Regions from separate parts of the Homo sapiens genome. Here region 1 is linked to region 2. Evidence: promoter capture Hi-C in human tissues and cell types (Jung and others, 2019). All regions are on one chromosome and are shown on one strand. The core of a region is centred on a gene start or on the middle of the fragment in contact, and the rest is flanking DNA. Distances in the headings are between cores, read along the strand shown.

The links. The method cuts DNA at HindIII sites, captures the fragments that hold promoters and counts their contacts. A contact is called where the count stands out against the background at its distance.
Region 1: a fragment that was not itself captured here is called in contact with the fragment with the promoter of LCMT1 in region 2 in 1 of the 25 tissues and cell types used here (H1 embryonic stem cells).

What each region holds. Positions count from the first base shown.
Region 1 is chr16:24,013,959-24,020,109 of GRCh38, reverse strand. The region is part of intron 3 of PRKCB (protein kinase C beta); the gene reads right to left. Among named protein-coding and RNA genes, the nearest start is that of PRKCB, 180 kb to the right of the region's middle. RefSeq lists enhancers at 5,360-5,429, 5,540-5,659. The HindIII fragment of the contact is 4,710 bases long and covers 1-4,501 here.
Region 2 is chr16:25,108,293-25,114,268 of GRCh38, reverse strand. LCMT1 (leucine carboxyl methyltransferase 1) reads right to left here and starts at 2,527. Exons shown (of 11, transcript NM_016309.3): 1 at 2,273-2,527. The coding sequence starts at 2,385. It overlaps LCMT1-AS1 (LCMT1 antisense RNA 1), which reads left to right and starts at 2,714. Exons shown (of 3, transcript NR_120306.1): 1 at 2,714-2,873. RefSeq lists enhancers at 2,220-2,379, 2,470-2,799, 2,577-3,104. The HindIII fragment of the contact is 11,844 bases long and covers 1-5,045 here.

The DNA.
Region 1 (6,151 bases), core at 897-3,396, 1.1 Mb after region 2:
GTGGGTGGGCCAATTGGTGTCATCCTGTGGGGGCAATTTGGCACTACCTATCCAAAGTACAAATGCTTTTGTAAAATTACAAATTCTTTTCACCTTTCACTCCATCACGTTGGACGAAGGTAAAATAACCTGCATACATAGGAAGTAATATACAGATACAGTTATTCACTGAAGCCCTGTTTAGGGTAGCATAAGATTTAAACACGCTAAGTGTCACTGGGAAAGGGTTGTTTAAATAAATCATAGTGTAGCCACATAATGGAAGACTACTCAGGTATAAAGTACAATGAGGAAGTTCTCTGCATTAATATGGAAAAAAATCTCATTTTTTTTTCTTTTTTTTTTTTAGGCAAGGCCTCACTTTGTCACCCAGGCTGGAGTGCAGCAGTGCAATCTCGGCTCACTGCAGCCTCAACCTCCCAGGTTCAAACAATCCTCCTGCCTCAGCCCCCGAAGTGTCTGGGACTACTGGTGCACGCTACCATGCCTAGCTACTTTTTATATTTTTTGCAGAGACAGGGTTTCGCCATATTAGTCAGGCTGGTCGCCTGAGCTCAAGCTCAAGTGGTCCGCCTGCTTCGGCCTCCCAGAATGCTAGGATTACAGGCGTGAGCCACTGCACCCGACCAAGGTTGTATTTTTTAAGTGAAACAAACAAAAAAATCAAGGTGCTGAGGTGTGTATATTACATGGTACCTTTTGTGTGTGTGAGAAAGCGAGGTGCAATAAGTTAAGTGTGTATCCTTTCTTTTTAAAATTATTTTCAGAGACAAGGTCTCACTATGTTGCCCAGGCTGGAGCACAGTGGCGAGATCATAGTTCACTGGAGCCTCAAACTTCTGGGCTCAAGTGATCCTCCTGCCTGAGCCTCCTGAGTAACCGGGGAAAGTCGACTCTTAATTACACCTCTGGCAGGATACACCAAAAAAAAAAAAAGAAAAAAAAAACCTAATACAAGTGTTCATCTATGGAGGCAAGAGAGAATAAAGTAGACAGAGAGTAAAACTTCTCAGCACAGACTTTTCTATACTTTTGATGTAAAGTAGAATATTTTAGGGTTTATCTGGGTATTACAAAAATCTCACCTCTTGTACTACCACCGTGAGTAACACATCAGTACTGCCATGCCCACAACTGCAAACAAAAGGCCAAAAATTTGCAAAAGACAAAAAAAGTAGGGAAACCTTAATTGAGACTGAGTGGACGGAGATTGTCTGAGCATGAAAAGTGGAGAATGTTAGAAGCTGTAATTACACACGCATGGCACATTTGAAAAGGGGACACTATAATTTGGTGACGATCTTTCATTTTGTTCCTGGAGAGGAGAATGAATAGAGCCAATAACACCATGTAAACACTTGTGTGTTGGGTGACGATTTGCTTCAACCGCCTGATATACCCTGCCCTCTTCTAACCCCGCCCATTTGGCGAATACGTAATTATTCCATTTGAAGGATAAGCTTCTATTGTATAAACTTTGGCAGAATTTAAAATACCATTTCCTGGGTTAAGATCTGCACTGCAGTCCATGTCAATATAGGGGTGAATTAGTAGCCACATCTAAGCTTAACTCTTGGCTCTTCCAGTTATTAACTTTCTGACTCTAGGGAAAGTTATTTAACCCTTTTAAGTTTTCGTTTCCTTGTGTGGAAACTGGAATAATAATAATGCTTAATTCCTAGGTTAGTAAGAGTTCAGTGAGATACTGCATGGAAACTGCATAAAGTTGCTGGTGAAGATGAACATTTAAGAAATGTTCTGCCAGGTCCGGTGGCTCACGCCTGTATTCCCAGCACTTTGGGAGGCCATGGTGGGAGGACTGCTTGAGCCCAGGAGTTTGAGACCAGCCTGGACAACATAGTAATATCTTGTCTCTATCTCTACAAAACATTTAAAAATTAGCCAGTTATGGGCCGGGCGCAGTGGCTCACACCTGTAATCCCAGCACTTTGGGAGGCCGAGGTGGGCGGATCACGAGGTCAGGAGATCGAGACCATCCTGGCCAACATGGTGAAACCCCGTCTCTACTAAAAAATACAAAAAATTAGCTGGGCGTGGTGGCGGGCACCTGTAGTCCCAGCTACTCGGGAGGCTGAGGCAGGAGTATGGCATGAACCCAGGAGGTGGAGCTTGCAGTGAGCTGAGATTGCACCGCTGCACTCCAGCCTGGGCCACAGAGCGAGACTCTGTCTAAAAAAAAAAAAAAAAAAAAAAAAATTAGTTATGGTGGCGCATGCCTATAGTCCCAGCTACTTGTGGGGATGAAGTGGGAGGATCACTTGAGGCCGGGAGTTCAAGGCTACAGCGAACCAGGATCACACCACTGCACTCTAGCCTGGGTGACAGAGCAAGATCCTGCTTCCAAAACAAACAAACAAAAAAAGAAGAAATGTTCACTGTTATCATTAATTTTGCCTGTTTTAAAATTCAAGTTTGTTTCTTTCAAATTATTTGTAACAAATTTTCCTGTGTATTATTTAAGGATATTAACCCTTCACCTATGATATATGCAGTAAATGTTTTCCCAGTTTCTCATTTGCCTTTTAATTTTGTCGATGTTCTTTTTTCAACGTATAACGCATGTGCGTGTCTGTGTGTGTGTGTGTGTGTGCCTGCGTGTTTAATAAAGTGCAAATTTTTCCCTTTTCCTGTATGGTTTCTGTCTCTGCTGTCGTATTTAGAAAGTCCTTCCTGATATTTTCTGGTAGTCTTTTATGGTTTCACTTTTTTACATTGAAATCATCATTTCCCTTGGCATTCATTTTAGCATGAGCTCTCAAGAAAGACCTTTATTTCTACTCTTAATGTTTAGACAGCAAATGTATGAAATGCATCTTTTCCCTGCTGATTTGAAATGCCTCTTTTATGATACACGAATTTCTTATGTATTCTCGGCTCATTTTTTAATATTGTCTTATGCTCCACTGATCTGTCTCTCTCTCCCCACCGTTGCACCATACCATAGTATAAGCTCTTGGTATCTAGAGGCACACACCTTTATACCCACTGGCCCCTCCCCTAGCATTCCTGCTTACTTTCAAATTTTTCTTGGTTATTCTTATCCATGTATTCTCCCAGATTGTGCTGGAAATGCCAATCATTGGCTGCTTAACTTATTGACCCTTCTAGAAAAATTCCAACCTACAGCACCAGCTCAGTGGACAGTAAAGCATCTGACCTCATACTTCCAGCCAATGCTGAATAGACCAAGGTTGGGTCAGTGATATGAAATTTATGAAGGAAGAACTGGGCCAATCAGAATTTAGAATAAGGAATTGTGCAGAGCTGGGTGCTGTGGCTGAGCTAAGGGGTGAGGTGGGATGTGATATAGAACCACGGCTGCCAGGAGAAAAACAGATTGGGGGAGCTAGGGGTGGAATTCACATGTAATTTGAGCCTTCTTGTGTTTTTCCAGAAAAGATTTTTTCCCCCATAAACTCTCTTAGTTGGGGCCTAAGTATTTATTCCTAGGTATTTTACCTCTTTATTGCTATTTTAACTGGGATTTTTTCAAATTTATTTTAACTGGTTGTTGCTAAAATACAGAAAAGTTATTGTCATTTATATCTTTATTTTATAACCAGACATTCTTGGCAAAGGGTATTTGATTATTTTCTTGGGTCTTCTTGGTAGACAACATTTGCCATCCATGTTAAGCGAGTCTTTTCTGCTTGGAGATTTATACCTGTTGTTTCAACGAGTGATCTTAGTTCATTAGCCAGGCCAGCAGCTCTTAGCCCGGGTATGCCAGCCTCTGTAGCATACCTGAAAATGTCTTCCAGAGATGTATTTCTAGCTTTCACCATGACCACCCAGGCCGCTGGGTGAAACTCACAGCCGTGGTGAGCCACGATTTTGATGGGGAATACTGTATTCTCAAAACGTTGGTTAAAAGCTGGGAAGAAATGGTGACCTTGGGCCAGCTCTCTTGATGTTATCCCTAGTTAACCTTAACTGTCTAGGAACAACAACCCTAGGGGGAGCTAGGATAATAACCCTAGCGGTAGTTATCCCTAGGGGATAACAATATTTGTTTTGTGAGGTTCTAGGGAATGAATTACCCACAACCTTTAAAACAGCTGCCTGACACAGAGCAGGCACTCAATAAGTACAAGCTATTATTATTAACTATTAATTATTAATTATCACTGCTCAGGGCATCCCTGTGCCTACTGAGTTGTGACTTTTCCCAATAAACCTTATATATATTTCCACTTCTTGGACTTCAGTCTTGATTTCCTGTGCCAATTCCTTCTACTACAGCTATAAGCCATTCACTTATTTAACCATTTAGTCACCAAATATTCGTTGAGTACCTTCCCTATGTCAGTCTAGTTGGGGAAAACAATAAAGAAGCATAAACCAATGTACACTTCCAACAGCTGCAAAGGAGACACTCAGTGCTTAGAGAATTTACAAGGAGAGTGTCGGCTGGATAGAGTCAGGAGGGCTTCCCTGAGAAAATGAAGTTTAAGCTGAAATCTTAAGGAATTAGAGGGTGTAACCAGGCGATGGCCACCTAGCTGGGGCTCTGCCCCATGGGAAGGGAGTAACTGCTCCACTGCATGAGGTTCAGAGTCAACCCAGGTAGACCTGGCTGACACCACCCCACCTCCACCTGCTGGCTTCAGGCTCTGCCTCAACCCCCGTGACCTGTTCCCAGCTTGGACCCCTCAGCCAAAAGACCCTAGCCCCACTGAGAGGGAGTTTAGCATGAGATCAGGGGTCAGATTCTATAGCTGGAATGTGCAAATTCAACACCAGCTCTGGTAATTTCCAGTCGTGCAGCCTCGAGCAAGCTACTTGAGTTATATAAGCCTTGATTTTCTCACCTGTAAAATGGAGAGAAGAGCTGTCACATGGAGAGAAATGACAGTGCTGGAGCAGACACTTCAAGGCCAGACTGTCTGAGATTGACTCCCAACTCAATGACCTCCCAGCTGTGTGACTTTGGACAGGTTACCCAACCTCTCTGAGCTTCAGGGTCCTCATCTTTAAAATGGAAATAAGGCCAGGCGCGGCAGTTCACACCTGTAATCCCAGCATTTTGGGAGGCCAAGGCGGGCGGATCACTTGAGGCCAGGAGTTCGAGACCAGCCTGGCCAACATGGTAAAACCCCATCTCTTCTAAAAATACAAAAATTAGCTAGCTGGGCATGGTGGCGGGTGCCTGTAGTCCCAGCTACTTGGGAGGAAGTTGAGGCAGGAGAATTGCTCGAACCCAGGAGGTGGAGGTTGCAGTGAGCCGAGATCATGCCATTGCACTCCAGCCTGGGTGACAAGAGCAAGACTCTGTCTTAAATAAATAAATAAAAGGAAATAATAATCACACTAAATCCTCATAGGATTATGAGAATTTAATGGATTAATATTTGTAAAAGACTCAGCACAGTGCCTGGCACATCATATATACACTATGCAAGTGTTTGCTGAATATAATGAGCCTGCTTTCTAGATGTGTACAGATTAATGAAATCACAATGATGATGCTTAGCTTGGCACAGTGACTGGCATGTAGTATCCATATGACAAATGTTAGCTTAGAATAAAAATGACATCTGTGATCTTGGGCAAGTCACTGCCATGGTCTGGTCTCAGTTCCTCCTTCTGAAAACAAAGGGGTTAGGCTTGGTATTCCCCAGGGGGCCTTCGAGTTCTGGTGGAGGCTGTTCACAGAGTGAGCCCCACCTCTTCCTGTGCAGGCCGGGTTGTGCATTCATTGCTCAGGGTGTACAGTAGTTTCAGGGAATAGTCACATGGCAACGGATCACACCCACATTATAAATAAATCCTCCATCACCCACAAAACCACACCCATCTCCTCCCCTCCCCACCCCTCTCCCCCTGCAGTGCCGTAAGCCAACTAAGGGAAGTGGTCTGAGCACCCCTTTTTGCTAAGTGGGGGGTCCCGTAAATGCAAGATCACAACATAAGATTATTCAACTTGCAAAGCCGCTGCCAGCTTGGTTTCCAGGTGCAGCCCTGGATGCCCAGCTTCCTGACAGCACCCTCTGTCACAGAAGCTCTCAGCACACCCAAGTCTGCATTTCAGAAGAGCAGAAAGATCCTCTGTATAGAAGGACACGGTGAGTTTGTGAATTACAGAGGAGCCTCCCATTCCTGCAAAGGATGCTGCTGGAGCAAATGCCTG
Region 2 (5,976 bases), core at 1,278-3,777:
ATAACATCCTACTTATCCGCAGAAGGACTCTATACCAAAGGAAGAAGCAAACTAAACAGAAGTAAAAGATTTACAGGTACCCAGAAGGCTGACTGGCTTTTTATTTTATAGCCATAACTCACTCAGGGCAGCAGGAACCACCCTAACTCATAGCTACTGCACATTCAGCAACTTTAACTAAACAATATTCAGCCTGGAGGGAAGTCAAAACTAGCAATAATAATTTACTGAGGGCTTCACTTTGTGTCAGATCCTCTGCATCGATAATCTCATTTAATCCTGACACCCATAAAGGTTACCTTTATTATCACTGTTTTAAAAATGAAAAGACTAGGCTGGGTGGGGTGGCTCATGCCTGTAATCCCAGCACTTTGGGAGACCAAGGCGAGCGGATCACTTGAGTTCAGGAGTTCGAAACTAGCCTGGCCAACGTGGTGAAGCCCTGTCTCCACTAAAAATGCAAAAATTAGCTGGGCATGGTGGTGTGTGCCTGTGATCCCAGCTACTTGGAAGGTTGAGGCAGGAGAATCACTTGAACCCGGCAGGTGGAAGTTACCAGGAGCCAAGACAGCTGTGGCCAATAGCAACTGAAAGCCACAGAAGAAAAAGCTGAGTATAATCCACTCAAATTCACAAATTTCATAAGGGACTCTCTCTAAGACTTTAATACTTGTGTATTTATTAATTTAATCAATCACCACTTACATGGACTACATGCCAGACACTGCTCCAAGTGCTCTACTAATATTAAATATCATTTTTGTCCACACCCACCTATGATGCGTTATTATACTCCCCATTTTACAGATCAGGAAACTGAGCCACAGAAAAGTTTAGTAATTTCCCCGACTTTATACTGCCAGTAAGTGGCAACGCTCAGTTTGACAGAGTCTAGCTCCAGAATCCATGCTCTGAAAGTTTAGTCCCCAAGAACCTATAAAAAGTGCAAGGTTTAATCCAACACACTGGTTTTCCCCACTCTACAATCACTACGTGGCCTCAGCCTCCTTCTCCCACCTTTAAAGCATTTTTTGAGTTCCTCTAACAGTTCACACTCCTCTGAACACTCTCCTACAACTTTCCTATTTTTCAAGCCTTTTCTTCTCACTTTTTTTTTTTTTTTTTTTTGAGACATAGTCTCGCACTCTCATCCAGGTTGGAGTGCAATAGCGTGATCTTGGCTCACTGCAACCTCTGCCTCCCGGGTTCAAATGATTCTCCGGCCTCAGCCTCCCGAGTAGCTGGGATTACAGGCGCCCGCCACCACACCCAGCTAATATTTGTATTTTTAGTAGAGATGGGGTTTCACCATGTTGGCCAGGATGGTCTCGAACTCCTGACCTCGTGATCTGCCCACCTCGGCCTCCCAAAGTGCTGGGATTACAGGCGTGAACCACCGCGCCCAAACTCTTCTCACCTTAAACATCACTGACAAAATTACAAACTCTAATGGCACTGCCGTATTTGTCAGCACTCAACACAAAAAAATCATAATTATATATTTCATAGGTAATTATTTGCTTCCTGTCTCTCTTTTCCAACAAAGCTGTGAGTTCCAGTATGTCTGACACCATGTCTGTCTTGTTCTTGGTGTATTTCCACCATCGAATTCCTACTAACCACTGCAAAGTAAAGGCCTGGCACAAAGTAAGGTCTCAAAAAATTTTGTTGAATGAAAGAATAAATGGTGGACATTCAAGCCTCAAGCTTTCTCTTTCTCTGACACGTACCTCTGCTGGCTACGCCCCCATCCCCACCACCACACCCTTAACAGTGGAGACTTAGTGCGGTACTGGCTCTGCAAAGAGATATTACTTGGCTCTGGGTGGGTTATTTCCCCTCGTCATCCTGAGTTTCAGGTGCACAACAGGGATCACACCAACCCCCTAAAGAATGCAACCTACAAAAGAGAGAGAACCTACACCTCTCATCCTCGTAACCCATCGAGGCTGGAGCTACTATTTGCTTCATGTCTGTCTTTCCAGCAGCGTTTAGCTCCAAGAAGCCCAAGGCCTCGTCTGTCTGGCTCAGGGGCCTGCTCCCATCGACGATACCCAGGCTGGCCCCCTGCCTGGCTCACAGCAAAAGCTCAGAAACGATTCGTTAAATAAATGAAGCCCTGCTCCGTGCACTTCACAGGTGGGAAGCGAGGGTCGTGCGAGGCGGGGGCTGCATCCCTGCCAGCCTTGAGCGTATTCTTCAGATGCAGGCCCACCTCCCACCTAGGCCCGCGCCCCAGATGCCGGCCCCGAACCCCGCGCCCGACAGGCACCTCTTGCACAGGGAAGCATCTTCGCAGGTGCCGCGCACGCCCTCGTCGTCTGCGTCGCAGCTCGAGGTGGAACAGCAGGAGGTGATAGAGGATTCCCTCTGCCTAGTGGCCATGGGCGTGGAGGTTCCTGGGAGCTGTGTCCGCCAGGGACATGGAAGCGGGGTCGACGGGCGGCGGGGGACGGCGCGAGCCACAGGGAGAAAGCAACAGAAGAGGGTAGGGCCCTACCTGGCTCAGCTGGCGCGGCTCAGTGACGCCGCCCACGCCGGCTACCCCAGCAACCTCTCCGCTTATTGGCTCCTCTTCCGAGTCGCTCATTGAGCAATTCTCCTGCCCGCTCAGCCTACGAAGTTGCTCATTGGATAATTATTTTGGCACCGCCCACATAACCCGGAAATTTGACGATAGGAAAAAGAAACTAAACAGTAGGAGAGTATCGCAATCCTTTCTGGGAAGCGTAGTCTTAGGTGTCTGGAGAAGTCGCCCGGTTTCTGCTTGCTGGTCGCGAAATTTTATAGCTATAATTAACTCAGGGCGGAACAGCTAGCAGAATCCTCAGCGTTCGGGCAAAGGGCAGAGAATCCAGCCAGAAGCAACATGTGTAAGTTGTTACATTCAGTCCGGGCTCAGTGTCATTCAATTTTACAAAATTTTGTTGTGTGCTGACTCTGCCAGCGACTGTGCTGAGGGCTTTGCCCCCAAAATTGCCTTCGAAATGTAGTGAGGGGGGCGGGCGTAGTGGCTCACTCCTGTAATCCCACCACTGTGGGAAGCCGAGGCGGGCCGATCACCTGAGGTCAGGAGTTCGAGACCAGCCTGGCCAACATGGTGAAACACCGTTGTTACTAAAAGTACAAAAATTAGCCGGGCGTGGTGGCGGCCGCCTTAGTCCTGGCTACTCAGGAGGCTGAGGCAGGAGAATCGCTTGAACCCGGGAGGCGGAGGTTGCAGTAAGCCCATGTGGCGCCACTGCATTCCGTCCTGAGCGACAGAGCGAGACTCCGTCTCAAAAAAATAAATAAACAAATAAATAAAAGAAAGAAAGAAAAGAAATGTAGTGAGGGAAGTAGTGTGTGGAAAAGTAATACAATAGGAAGCCATGTAGCAGCGATCATAAATGAACTAGAGCTACCAGGTAGCAGCATCAATGGCTGAATCTCAGAAACACGATGTTCAGTGAAAGAAGGAAGTCTAACAACACTTTTGTAAAGTTCAAACCAAGTAAAACTAATGTTGTTTAGAGAAACGTACATATATGGTAAAATACTGTACAGAGAAGGCAAGACATGAGAAAAAAAAATAAAAAAGAATCAGGATATTGGTGATCTTTAGGGAGCCGGGAGGGTAGCACACAAGAGGGGGAGGGAGAGGCAGGGAAGGAGCACATAGACACATCCTCAGTTTCTCACGTGGGAGTGGGTTCACGTGTGTCTGTTTCATTATGAGGCATATTCAAGATGTTTTGGATTTATTTTGTACTAAATCTAGTACAAAATATATGTATAAATTCAAGATGTACTGGGGAAGTCGCCTGGTTTCTTGCTGGTGATGAAATTTTATAGCTATAATTAACTCAGGGCAGAACAACTAGCAGAATCCTCAGTGTTCGGGCGATTGGCAGAGAATCCAGCCAGAAGCAACCCTTGTAAGTTGTATATGTATAATAATGTTTAATATACATTATAAATTAAAAATGTCTTTGTATATTCCATTTTGTTATCTGTCAGTTGTTGGAAGCAGGAAACAGATATACTTTAAGAACTTTGAATTGCACTCATTTTTTTAAAAAGAAAATCAACAACAGAAACCCAGAATACACACCTTGGAGTGAGGTCAAATATCAAATGCTAGCTCAGTATTCTAATGGAGGCACAAGATCTCATTGATAGCCACAGTAGAAATGACAAGAGGGGAATGACTAAGGGTGGAGAGCTTTGCCAGGGGGAATGCTGATGGGATGAAATACACCATTTTCTTGGAGTGGTCCTTTGCCAAAAGGGTAATACAAACTATTGCACAAGCATCATCTCCCAGCTTAGCAGTGTCCACATTCCACGGGTGTTAGTGGATAGTAAGTGTTAACAGCAAGTACTATACGGTGTTAATCCCACAGGTCTGGACAGTGAGACTGGGGGTGACTGGAAGAAGGCGGAGGCAGATGGGTTTATACACTTTTGTTGTTGGATGAGCCTTTGATTCAAAATAGCTGGTGATTCAGAGGAATTTGGCCATCTTCCAGCTGACCTCCAGGGCCAGCTCATTCCATGTAAGTTCCTGGTTGAGGATCTGAAAGTTTATGACAGCGTGGAGTCTGGAGATTGCAAGCTTAGCCATCTCAGGCTAAATGATACCTTAATGCAAGAGACAATGCTGGGGTAGTCTTTGAGCCATATCCCAGCCAGAGAAAGTTCACTGCCAACTAGACTGCATCTTTTGACAAAGTCAGGAGAAGAGTTGTGGAAGTGTAAAAGCTCTTGGACATTAATATTGTGGGCCAAAAGTTAGGCATTCACCATGGAATCTCTCCCCAAAAGGCTACAATGGACAATTGTTGCTTTGGCTCTCCAGTATCTCTTTCTTCTATAAAAAATAGCTAGAGTGGGCTGGGCGCGGTGGCTCACACCTGTAATCCCAGCACTTTGGGAGTCCGAGGTGGGTGGATCACCTGAGGTCAAGAGTTTGAGATCAGCCTGGCCAACATGGTGAAACCTCGTCTCTACTAAAAATACAAAAATTAGCCAGGCATGGTGGCAGGCGCCTATAATCTCAGCTACTAGGGAGGTTGAGGCAGGAGAATCACTTGAACCCGGGAGGTGGAGGTTGCAGTGAGCTGAGATCGTGCCATTGAACTCCAGCTTAGGGGACAAGAGCAAAACTCCGTCTCAAAAAACAAACAAAAAGCTGGCATGGTGGCTCATGCCTGTAATCCCAGTACTTTGGGAGGCCGGGGCAAGTGGATCACCTGAGGTCAGAAGTTCGAGACCAGCCTGACCAACATGGTGAAACCCCATCTCTACTAAAAATAAAAATTAGCCAGGCATGATGGCGCATGCCTGTAATCCCAGCTACTCCGGAGGCTGAGGCAGGAGAATTGCCTGAACCCTGAAGGCAGGGGTTGTGGTGAGCCGAGATTGCGCTATTGTACTCCAGCCTGGGCAACAAGAGCGAAACTGTCTCCAAAAAAAAAAAAAAAAAGCTACAGCTTCTTATGGAAAACTAAGCTTCTCTCCTGGCCAGGCGTGGTGGCTCACACCTGTAATCCCAGTCACCGAGGCGGGATTTGGGAGGCCGAGGCGGGTGGATCATGAGGTCAGGAGTTCAAGACCAGCCTGGCCAACATGGTGAAACTCCATCTCTACTAAAAACACAAAAAATGGCTGGGCATGGTGGTGCGCGCCTGTAGTCCCAGCTACTCAGGAGGCTGAGGCAGAAGAATCGCTTAAACCCAGGAGGCAGAGGTTGCAGTGAGCCGAGATCGTGCCACTGCACTCCAACCTAGGCAACAAGAGCGAAAGTCTGTCTCGAAAAAAAGAAAAAGAAAAAGAAAAAAAAGCAAGGCTCCTTGCCTGACTCTAGGGGTGGAAACTTGCCAAGGTCTGGCCAATTGGCACCCAAAATCACCTTGTCATGCTTCAGAGGGTGGTGGGGATTGGGGGAAGGGCTAACCAGGTTGTTCCAATCAGAATGAATCCCAGGAGTTGAAT